2 separate regions of the Homo sapiens genome follow, and region 2 is linked to region 1. Evidence: promoter capture Hi-C in 16 types of primary human blood cells and fetal thymus (Javierre and others, 2016). All regions are on one chromosome and are shown on one strand. The core of a region is centred on a gene start or on the middle of the fragment in contact, and the rest is flanking DNA. Distances in the headings are between cores, read along the strand shown.

Evidence for each region. Contacts are between HindIII fragments. The CHiCAGO score rates a contact against its expected background, and 5 or more counts as called.
Region 2: a contact is called between a fragment that was not itself captured here and the fragment with the promoter of ELOVL4 in region 1, in 1 of 17 cell types (fetal thymus). The highest score is 8.4, in fetal thymus.

Annotation. Positions count from the first base shown.
Region 1 is chr6:79,944,092-79,949,182 of GRCh38, forward strand. It overlaps ELOVL4 (ELOVL fatty acid elongase 4), which reads right to left and starts at 3,462. Exons shown (of 6, transcript NM_022726.4): 1 at 3,089-3,462. The coding sequence starts at 3,188. LOC124901350 reads right to left here. Exons shown (of 2, transcript XM_047419628.1): 2 at 3,296-3,920. The coding sequence starts at 3,724. The coding sequence ends at 3,296. It overlaps LOC124901351 (a long non-coding RNA gene), which reads left to right and starts at 3,714. Exons shown (of 3, transcript XR_007059656.1): 1 at 3,714-3,836. RefSeq lists a silencer at 3,522-3,571. The HindIII fragment of the contact is 8,446 bases long and covers 1,275-5,091 here.
Region 2 is chr6:80,039,984-80,044,829 of GRCh38, forward strand. It overlaps TTK (TTK protein kinase), which reads left to right. Exons shown (of 22, transcript NM_003318.5): 20 at 213-297; 21 at 623-720; 22 at 2,136-2,544. The coding sequence ends at 2,219. Among named protein-coding and RNA genes, the nearest start is that of TTK, 38 kb to the left of the region's middle. The HindIII fragment of the contact is 2,180 bases long and covers 1,961-4,140 here.

The sequences.
Region 1 (5,091 bases), core at 2,212-4,711:
AGGGTGTTTATATGCTAAATGTCAGGTATGCAAAAAAGCTATTAAACATTTATTAAAAGCATGAATAAATGAATAATGTAGATAAGTTGGGTATTCATAGATTGGGGAATATTTAGATTCATCAGTTTAAAAAATGTATATACAACTTTTATTAGATGTATACGTTGAGCCTAGGACTCCAATCCTAATAATTTAAATGTACTCATGAAGTGAAAGAATAGAAGAAAAAAACTAACATGATGACATGGAATACCTACTCTAATACTAACAACTAGTATAAAGTCCTACACCAGCCTATACTTTAACATAAACCAACGCTAATTTCCTCGTTCAAAATGTCTACAAATACAGAGAAATAAAAATTATTTTTGTTGTTTTTCTAAAAGTATAGCTCTTTCAAACTTTCAATTCCAATGTACAAAGTGTTAATACTGTAGTAAAAGTAACATTTTTGTTGTTAACATTATTATGGACCATATTTTGTATTTGCTACATATGTGCCTCTGAAAAGCCCAGTTTTCAGACATTGCTTTGGATATGTTTGGATATTTAAAGCACCATTTGATATAATAGCACAAAATGGCATTTAATGAATTAATAAAAGAATGAAAGAAGCATGTAACTACAGCACTAGGAATGAGAGCAGCCAAGGACAAGGAGCCTACCTCATTTCTTGCTCTCCCTCAATAATTTGCATCCTTTCACCACACTCATCACTATTTCTCAAGACCATCTTTCTATCCCGCCCATTTCTGTTTCCCCTTCTTTCCAAACATTTGACTCACCAACTTTTGTTTAACCTCATCTTATAAGCTACTTTTCTATTTTGATATCCCCCACCCAGATTTTCATCAAATTATGCTGAGAGGTGGAATCAGAGCAGAGTGAATGAGTCCAAAAAAAAAAAAAAAAAAAAAAAAGGAACACGAGGGGCATAGAATGAGGGAGAGTAAACGTAAATGGGACACCACAGACTTCAGGTCTATTCGGCCTGGACCTGAAAAATACTCCTCCTCACACAGCAGTACAGCAGAACAGACTATATCCACTAAGCCTCTCTGTTGGTTAAGAAATACCATCTGCCTACATAAGGTAGCTCATTACAGAAAGCAAGGAAGCAGTCTCAGGTTTCGTAAGTGGATAGTCAAAGCATAGGCAAATACCTTCCTTCGGCCTGCTAGTGAGAGGTCACTTGTGTTCTAAGGCTACTCTCACTTCTCAGGCTTGGCCCACAATATTATATTATTTTATATGCCCTTCGAAGCCTAGTAGCAAGCTTTCACATGCGGCAACTGCACAAAATTTCCTGTTTCATTTGTGTGTGTGTGGTTTCTTTTACACAAACATCATCAGGAAGGAATTCACCATCACAGAAAGGTGTATTCTACCTTTGCCCTCAATTTTTCCTTCTGAGACTCAAGAGATGGGAAAGCTCCGGGATAGGATAGGAATGACAGGACCGAGAACTCCTGGGTGTGGCTCTGGCTATATGGAGACTGGAGTATCTCAACAGTGTCTGACTCCTAGGTGTGCGAAGTGCAATTACCTGCTAAAGAACTTGTCTGATGTTCAGCTCTATACAATTGTGTAATGGGAAGCCCTGATGCAACGTTTAAAGAACCGAAATCACAGACGTGAAGGGAAGGGCACATCTTTCCCAGTTTTTGCAGGTACAGTGTAACATCAGTGTAATAGCGCATAGAAACAAAAAAAAAAACTGAAGAAACACTCCATTGAAAACTGCCTTTTAACCATTTTCAGCTGTAATGGCTTATTAAATAGCTTATTTCCCAGTGTCAAAGTTGAGATCTTCTGAAAAAGAACATACTTTTCTAAAGAAGTGAATGCAGTATTAATGCCAAATAATCATTTTGTCTCTCACAAAAATAATTCCAGCATACGTTTTTCCCAAAACATAAGCCCTATGTATCGGACTACATTCATGCTGTAACCACTGTCTAATTTCCTCTAACAACAATGAACACAAAAACTACAGGAGTACATTTTCATTTCGAAGTAGGGAAGGCAGAGTCATAAGATGGAACGTTAATATCCTTCACTGATAGGATGCAGTGTGATACTGCAAAAGGACCAGAAAAATTGACCTCGTAAAATCATTTCTGAAATCCTTTAAACCTTATTTTAGATTTCAAAGACTTTTAAATGCTTTAAAATCAAAAGCAGCGAAGCAAATGAAGAAATAAACAGTACAATGTAAAAATATAATATCACAGTTGGACGCTAGGAAAGCTGCATAAATCAAACAATTGACAGCCCTGCCAAATTAACTGCAACAGCTAAAGAAAAGTTTGCTGATTTAAGAACTGTATATATGTAGGCATCTGGGACAACCTCTAGGTGTTGCTGTAGAGACCCCCTTCCTAAAGACTGATTTCTTCCCCGGTGTTTTGGCCTCCCCCTCCCCCTGACTGCACTGCAGTGCGCAAAGCCATTATAGACAATCACTTCAAACATATTTGCTGTTGAAAATGCCTCGGAAACTAACATTCTTCAAGGTTCAAGGAGCCAAACAATATTATTTTACTTTTCAGTCCGAATTATACTATAGATGAAGGAGCTAGATAGAAGAAAAGATTAGCAGGGTTCTGTCAAAGCGACCAGGAGGCTGAAGAAACCTCCTGTACCTTCAGCTGCCCCTGAAGCCCTCCTTCCTCCCCAGCCCGCTCTCCATACAAAATAGGACTAAATGTTAAAAGGAATCCTGTGCACGGGGAAGAGGGAGGCGAGCTCGGGAGATGTGGGAGCACAGGGTGGGGCGGCTCCTGCGAGGAGCTCCTGGCTGCACAGGCTCCATCTGATATGTCAGCTCCCGCATCCGAGAGCTGATGAGAGATGGAGGGAGCTCAGAAGAAAACCCTGCGAGTGTCGGGGGAGGGGAGGCCTTAACATTCGGATCAGATTAACCAGTGCTCAACCGCAGTGCCCGCGCCGGCCCCTCCGCTGATCCGCAGCATCCGAAAGCCGCAGGGCGCGGGGGCCTGTGGGGCCGGGCCCGGGAGCTGCGAGACCAGGGGCCGGTGACCCCCCGCGGGGGACCGAGCGAGGATGGGGAAGTCAGCGGCTTTACCTGCGATGGACCAGGTCCAGCGGTAGAACTCTACCGTGTCGTTGAGTGCCGTGGACACTACGTTTAGGACACTACCCGGCTCCGAGTCCAGGAGCCCCATCGCGGCGATGAGCGGGCGCTGGCGGCAGGAGAAAGCGGAGACCCAGAGAGAGGGCTGACCCCGGAGGCGGTGGCGGCCGACGGGGCGAGCGGCGGCCGGGAACCCCTCTAACGGCGGCGGCCCGGCTGCGTCTTCTCCTGCTCCTCAAGGCGCCGCGGCGGCGGGGATGCGGCAGAAGGCAGGGCCAAGCGGAAGGCGTCGTCAAGGTTCCCGGGAGAAAGACGAGGAGGTGGAGGAGGCCCAGCCGCCAGCACAGTGCGCTGCACCAGTCTGCAGCCTCGCGCAGCCGCCCCTCCAATCTCCTCAGCCGGCGTCACGTGGCCGCGCGCGGGGGCGGGGGGCCGGCCGCCCCTCCTCCCTCCCTCCCTCCCTAGTATTGGGACTCGCTGGCGTAGGGATGCTGCGCTCAAGGGTGCGACGCCAACTGGGCTCGCGCAGGCGCGCGCCGTCGAGCGGGAGCGGGACACCTGGGCTCCTCCTTGGCCCCTCCCCGCACAAGTCGCCTCATTAGCCTTCCCCGCCCCTGTCCCGGGCATCGGCCCCTGCGGAGGAGTTCACCGCCTCCCCACGGGTGATTTCTTATCCGCCCCGGATACGTCCTGGGAAACAGGACACGGGAAGAATGGGTGTTCTGTGGGCAAAGATGAGGTAGGCGTGGTGCTTTGGTCCTTACCTGACACTCACCTCGATTTCACTTGTGTTCCTGTTTCTTTGACCTCCACCAGCACATGCCTGTCACCATGACAAGAGAAGTGCATGTGTTATGCCTCTGAAGAAGTGAAGGGTATTTGTCTTCCATGCTTCAGCGATGGAGAATAGACTTTGGGGTCGACCCATGAACAAATCAACATATAATTGCATGAATGCTTGCATGTGTTTTGTAGACTCTTTTACTATACATGGAATGAACAAAGCAATATAATTGTGCTAAATTAGGCCATTAGTAGTTCAGAGAAGAGGGAGAACCGAGAGGGGCTTACAGGTGAAGTCCGCTTGAACCTGAAGAAGTTGAGGTGAATCTGAAAAAGATAATCGCTCAAGAGGCAAAGGGCAATTTAGTGTAGAGAGGAAAACAAAGTAATTGTGGCTATTTTGAAAAATTGTTTAGATAAGGTATAGGAGAGCCTACCCTTGAAAAGTAAAAAAAATACAGTACTTGGAATTCATAATTTGATGGTTTCTCACATAAAACAAGATTTTTGAGAATAGTCCTTTCATCTACTTGTTTTTTAAATGTGTCACCTACTTGTTTAACCTTTTCTCCACTTGCTCATTTTGGATGCTACATTTTAAAGACCAGTGAGTCAAGTGTCTTATTGTTCCTGCCCTTTCACACTGTTAATGTGAATACTATCTTTTATCATACTGAAATGATCTATTTCCCAATTGACCTGGTTATATATTGTCTATATTTTATATTGGAAGCATCCTAGATGGTAAGAATTATTTTTGGTTGCTTGATGAGTACCTAACCCAGTGCTATAAACAGTAATTAATAAATATTTATGATGACAAAAATATAACATGTCTTTCAGAGAATAATAAGGATTATTGTGAGTGGCAGGAACTTTATTGCCGAACTAAAGCAAACACAGACTTCTTTAAATGCCCTATTCTTGAAATTAACCAAATAAAATGTTAATTTATTAATTTGTCAAATATATTTGCAAATCTAAAGTTTTCTGGATTGGAATGACAATTTCTCAAGTCTCAATCCTAAATTATGTGTAACAGATTCTAGTAGCTATATAAAAAAAAGAAATCCAGTCAAGTCTCTTCATTTAGGGAGTGGATAAATACCCATTCATTTACAGTGATGATCTAACAAAGTTCGGATTAGTTCGAGCTTCACCTAAAAATTTGATTACTATTTCTATATTGTGGAATCCTGGAGTTTTTAGGG
Region 2 (4,846 bases), core at 1,801-4,300, 95 kb after region 1:
AATTAGTTTTTTTACTTTGAAGATGTTTTAAAGCTTGTAAATACTTGGGGATTTTGCAAAAGTGCCTTGGGAGAAATAATCTTGTCATAATACTTTAGTGGGATATCTAAAAAGTAACTTTTATAATATAATGTAATCTGGAAAAATACTTTATCAATATCATATATGAAAACCTGCTTTGTTTTTCTTTTAAAATATCTTTGTTTTAATAGTGTTGTTTAAAAAGGGACCCAAAACAGAGGATATCCATTCCTGAGCTCCTGGCTCATCCATATGTTCAAATTCAAACTCATCCAGGTACTACTTCTTTAAAAATTTGTTTATTACTAGATTGGTAGTATAAACAGTCTGTTACCTATTAATATAACAAAGACAGAATCTAAATTGGCTACCCTTTGTCAGCCTGCCTTTTTCCTTAAGGAAGTTCCATTATTATAAATAGTAAAGTAAATAAACTTTTTTTTCTTTACTTCTGGTATTTATTTTTACTTATTCCAGATAACGGGTTATAATCAGTGATAAATTATAAGAATATCACTTTGTGCTATTAAACAAAATGTGTATTTACAATGGACTTATATTTTTCTTACTGGTACTAGTGTATTATTGATTTATTTTATAGTTAACCAAATGGCCAAGGGAACCACTGAAGAAATGAAATATGTTCTGGGCCAACTTGTTGGTCTGAATTCTCCTAACTCCATTTTGAAAGCTGCTAAAGTAAGTATGTCTATTCTTTACATTAATTTTTACTGTTTTATATAGTGAATTCGACACTTAAGGAAACAGGTAGTCTGAAGAAAAGTTGGTCCAATCATCAGATCAGTTATGAAACATGTTTCTACATTTAGATACTTAACATGTGCATTTTGACAAATATCGATTTACTTGATTTATATTCTTCTTCTGCATACAGTACAGTTCAAAGTAGATCATCACATAAGGTGCATTCAAAAGATTGCTGTCACGTCTCAACTGGAATACATTTAATATAGGAATATAGTGTGTCTTTTAATTCAGCACCATTATTAATACAGCTTTTGAATTCATTCCTTTTAGCCAGTTTTTTCCTTAGAGACATTACATGTAATGGCTTTTTTGAAGCTGTACACAGCAATCAACACAATTCTCAAAGCACAAGTCTCAAGCTTTTTAGCTTCCCAATGTCCATTTATATCTATACCATGATTTTTCAAACACCTAGTTATTTCTAGAACCCTGTGAATGCTTATTGACCAACTGATTTAGCCAACAAGCAGTTACTAATTATGTATTTCAGTTACAACATTATCATAAAATTATGGGAACCTAAACTATCAATACTCGTAGCTCTCTGGATACATATAAAATCCATCTAAGTTGCCAAGAACTTGAATACATTTTTTGAAGGAATTTACTATATATTCACTATATTTGCATTTATATGATATGAGGTACCTGTTTTCTTAAATTTTCTCAAATGCTAATGGCTAAATCAATGGATTTAGTAATTAAAAGTGGACCAAATTTGTTTTGTAATTGCTCTGTATTTTGTATCTCCATGTTTTAAGTTTATACTAATATATTATTCAAAGCCTCTTATAGCTATAGTTGAGGTGGATTATTTTTATAACTGAAGTTGTATGTTCCTTGAGGGCAAAGATGTCTGCCATCTTCATAAGTTAGATGTTAGCTGAGTCTTAAATCATTTTTAAATACATGGATTTTAATATATATCTAATTATTATATTTATATAATTTGTAATGTCTTCTATTTATTAGCTTATTATCATCTGAGAATATAAAGTTTCCTAATAAATATATTTTGTATAGGAATTTACCTAAGACTGGCTTTATTTAAGAAAAAGTAAAGAGATAAAGAAGGCCTTGAAGGCTCATATGTATGTTTATTAGTAGCTCTGTTATATTTCTCTCATAGAAAGATTGAGTTATATCTCATGATAGGTAATGCTTAAGGCCAAGCTTCGTGTTTAAAATTCTTTATTATCTCTAATAGTTTATAAAATAATTTCCCAACTGTAAGAACAAGAGAGAAATAAATGTATTATATTTAGAATACATCAAAATACATCTACTGATGTGACAGTACATTTAACTAAAAAATTGCAAAACAGATTTGTGTTTTTTAATTTCAGACTTTATATGAACACTATAGTGGTGGTGAAAGTCATAATTCTTCATCCTCCAAGACTTTTGAAAAAAAAAGGGGAAAAAAATGATTTGCAGTTATTCGTAATGTCAGATACCACCTATAAAATATATTGGACTGTTATACTCTTGAATCCCTGTGGAAATCTACATTTGAAGACAACATCACTCTGAAGTGTTATCAGCAAAAAAAATTCAGTAGATTATCTTTAAAAGAAAACTGTAAAAATAGCAACCACTTATGGCACTGTATATATTGTAGACTTGTTTTCTCTGTTTTATGCTCTTGTGTAATCTACTTGACATCATTTTACTCTTGGAATAGTGGGTGGATAGCAAGTATATTCTAAAAAACTTTGTAAATAAAGTTTTGTGGCTAAAATGACACTAACATTTCAAAGTTGTAAGGTTGTTTTCTTTAAGCAAATGTATTGTTGGCATGGCAGCAAAATTCTTAATTAGTAAAAAGTAGATTAGGGAAGATGTGAGACTAGACCTTAGTAAATGAACTTTGAAAAACAAATCCTGAAGGGTTTGAATTCCAAAATAGACTTCCTAATTATTTCCGGCACCGATAACAGTCTATAATTTTAGGACTGAACTTGGCTCTTTCAGATATTCATAACGTCTGTTGTTTTTGGTATTTAGAATATCATGCTGGATTCTGTGTTGTAAGCTGTATAGGGCATGCCCTCACTGTATGACTTGCTAGGTAATGGATAATTGTAAATGTGGCCCCAGAGTCTCTTGACTGAATCTGATAGCTTAAAGTATCCTCACATAGCATCCTTTTCTCAATTTTTAAAAAAAGATTTTAAGAGATTTTATTTTTTATAGCAGTTTTAAGTTCACAGCAAAATTGACCAGAACGTACAGAGTTCCCATGTATCCTTTCCCCACCCCACCCCCACACATGTATAACTTCCCTTGCTATCAGCATCCACCATATCAACATTCCACACCACAATGGTACATTTATCACAGTCCGTAAACCTACCTTAACATATTATCACCCAAAGTCCATAGTTTATATTGGGGTTCACTCTTGGTATTGTATATTCTTTAGGTTTTGATAAATATTTAATGACATTTATCTACCATTGTAACATGATACAGAATAGTTTCACTGTCTTGAAAGTCCTCTGTTCTTTGTCCCTTCATCCTTCCCTCTACCCTAATGCCTGGGAACCACTGATCTTTTTACTATCTCTGTAGTTTTACTTTTCCAGAATGTGACCGTCACGTAAGTGGAATCATACAGTCTATAGCCTCTTCAGATTGGCTTCTTTCACTTAGCAACATGTCTTTTTATGGCTTGCTAGCTTATTTCTTTTTAGCACTAGTTAATATTCTATTGTCTGGATGTTCCACAGTTTATCTCTTTATCTGCTGAAAGATACCGTGGTTGCTTCCAAATTTGGGGAATTGTGAATAAACTTGCTATGTGCATGCTTTTGTCTGGACCTAATTTTTTTTAGCTCTTTTGGCTAAATACTCCTTTGGGACCAAGGAGTTTAACTGCTAAAATCTATGTAAGAGTGTTTAGTTGTGTAAGAAAGCACCAAACTGTCTTCCAAAGTGGTTGTACTGTTTTGCGTTTTCACCAGCAATGTTTCAGAGTTCCTGTGGCTCCATATCCTTTCCAGCATTTGATGTCTGTGTTTTGGATATGGGGCATTCTAATGGGTTGGTAGGGGTATCTCATTTTAATTTGCATTTCCCTAATGACATGATTTTGAGCATCTCATTTCTATATGCTCATTTGCATCTGTGTATCTTCTTTTGCCCATTTTTAAATTGGTTCATTTTCTTATTGAGGTTTAAGAGTTTTGTGTATTTTGAATAACAGTCCTTTATCAGATGTCTTTTGCACATATATTCTCCCACTTGTGGCATTTCTTCTCATTCTCTTCATTCCCAAATTTGTAACTATGGTTATTAGTTTTCAGAATTATTGGTTTTAAGTTAATGTAGTGTAATAGGTAAGTAGTAAGCTTAAACAGGAATTCTGCAAACCACACTTATAGAGAAAACATGGTAAAAATTCAACTTGGAAGTCAGGCATTTGTCTACATGTGTTCATTGAGAATACTGTTGATTTTTTTCTTTTTAAAATTATCTTGAAATTTAATGTGCATATAAACAATTTTTTTTAATACTTGTTTAGAGTTAGAAATTCTCTTATGGGGAAAAGCATCGTTTTGTCTATTGCTTCAATGGGTTCTTGATGAAAGTGTCTTGTTTGTTTTACAATTACTAACCTATAGTCAGAATCAGTTAATGTTTTGAAAATACATTTTTAGGAAAGCATTGGCTACTTTTTGCCCTTGGAGTTTTCATATCAATTTTATCAGTTCATTAAATTCCACACACAAAATAATCATGTTGTGATTATTTTGTGTGTGGAATATTATCTTTGTCTTTGTACTAGTCATGGTACTTGAGGGAAAAAAAGCAAGCATATGAGGTTTCCTATAATGGCGTCTTCCAAAGATGGATTTCCAAATGCAGAGAAGATTTTTGCTTGCTTATACCAGATCCCAGAGGCTTACCTAGGGCTAGAATATTCCAAGTTCAAAGCTTGAGGTTCTCAGAACCAGGTGATGCAAAATCAGGTTAAAATCCACTTGGTTTATTTCTAGAGGACACTTGTCCAGGGAGGTCAGCCCTTCTGGTTCCAGCTTAAAGCAAATGTCAG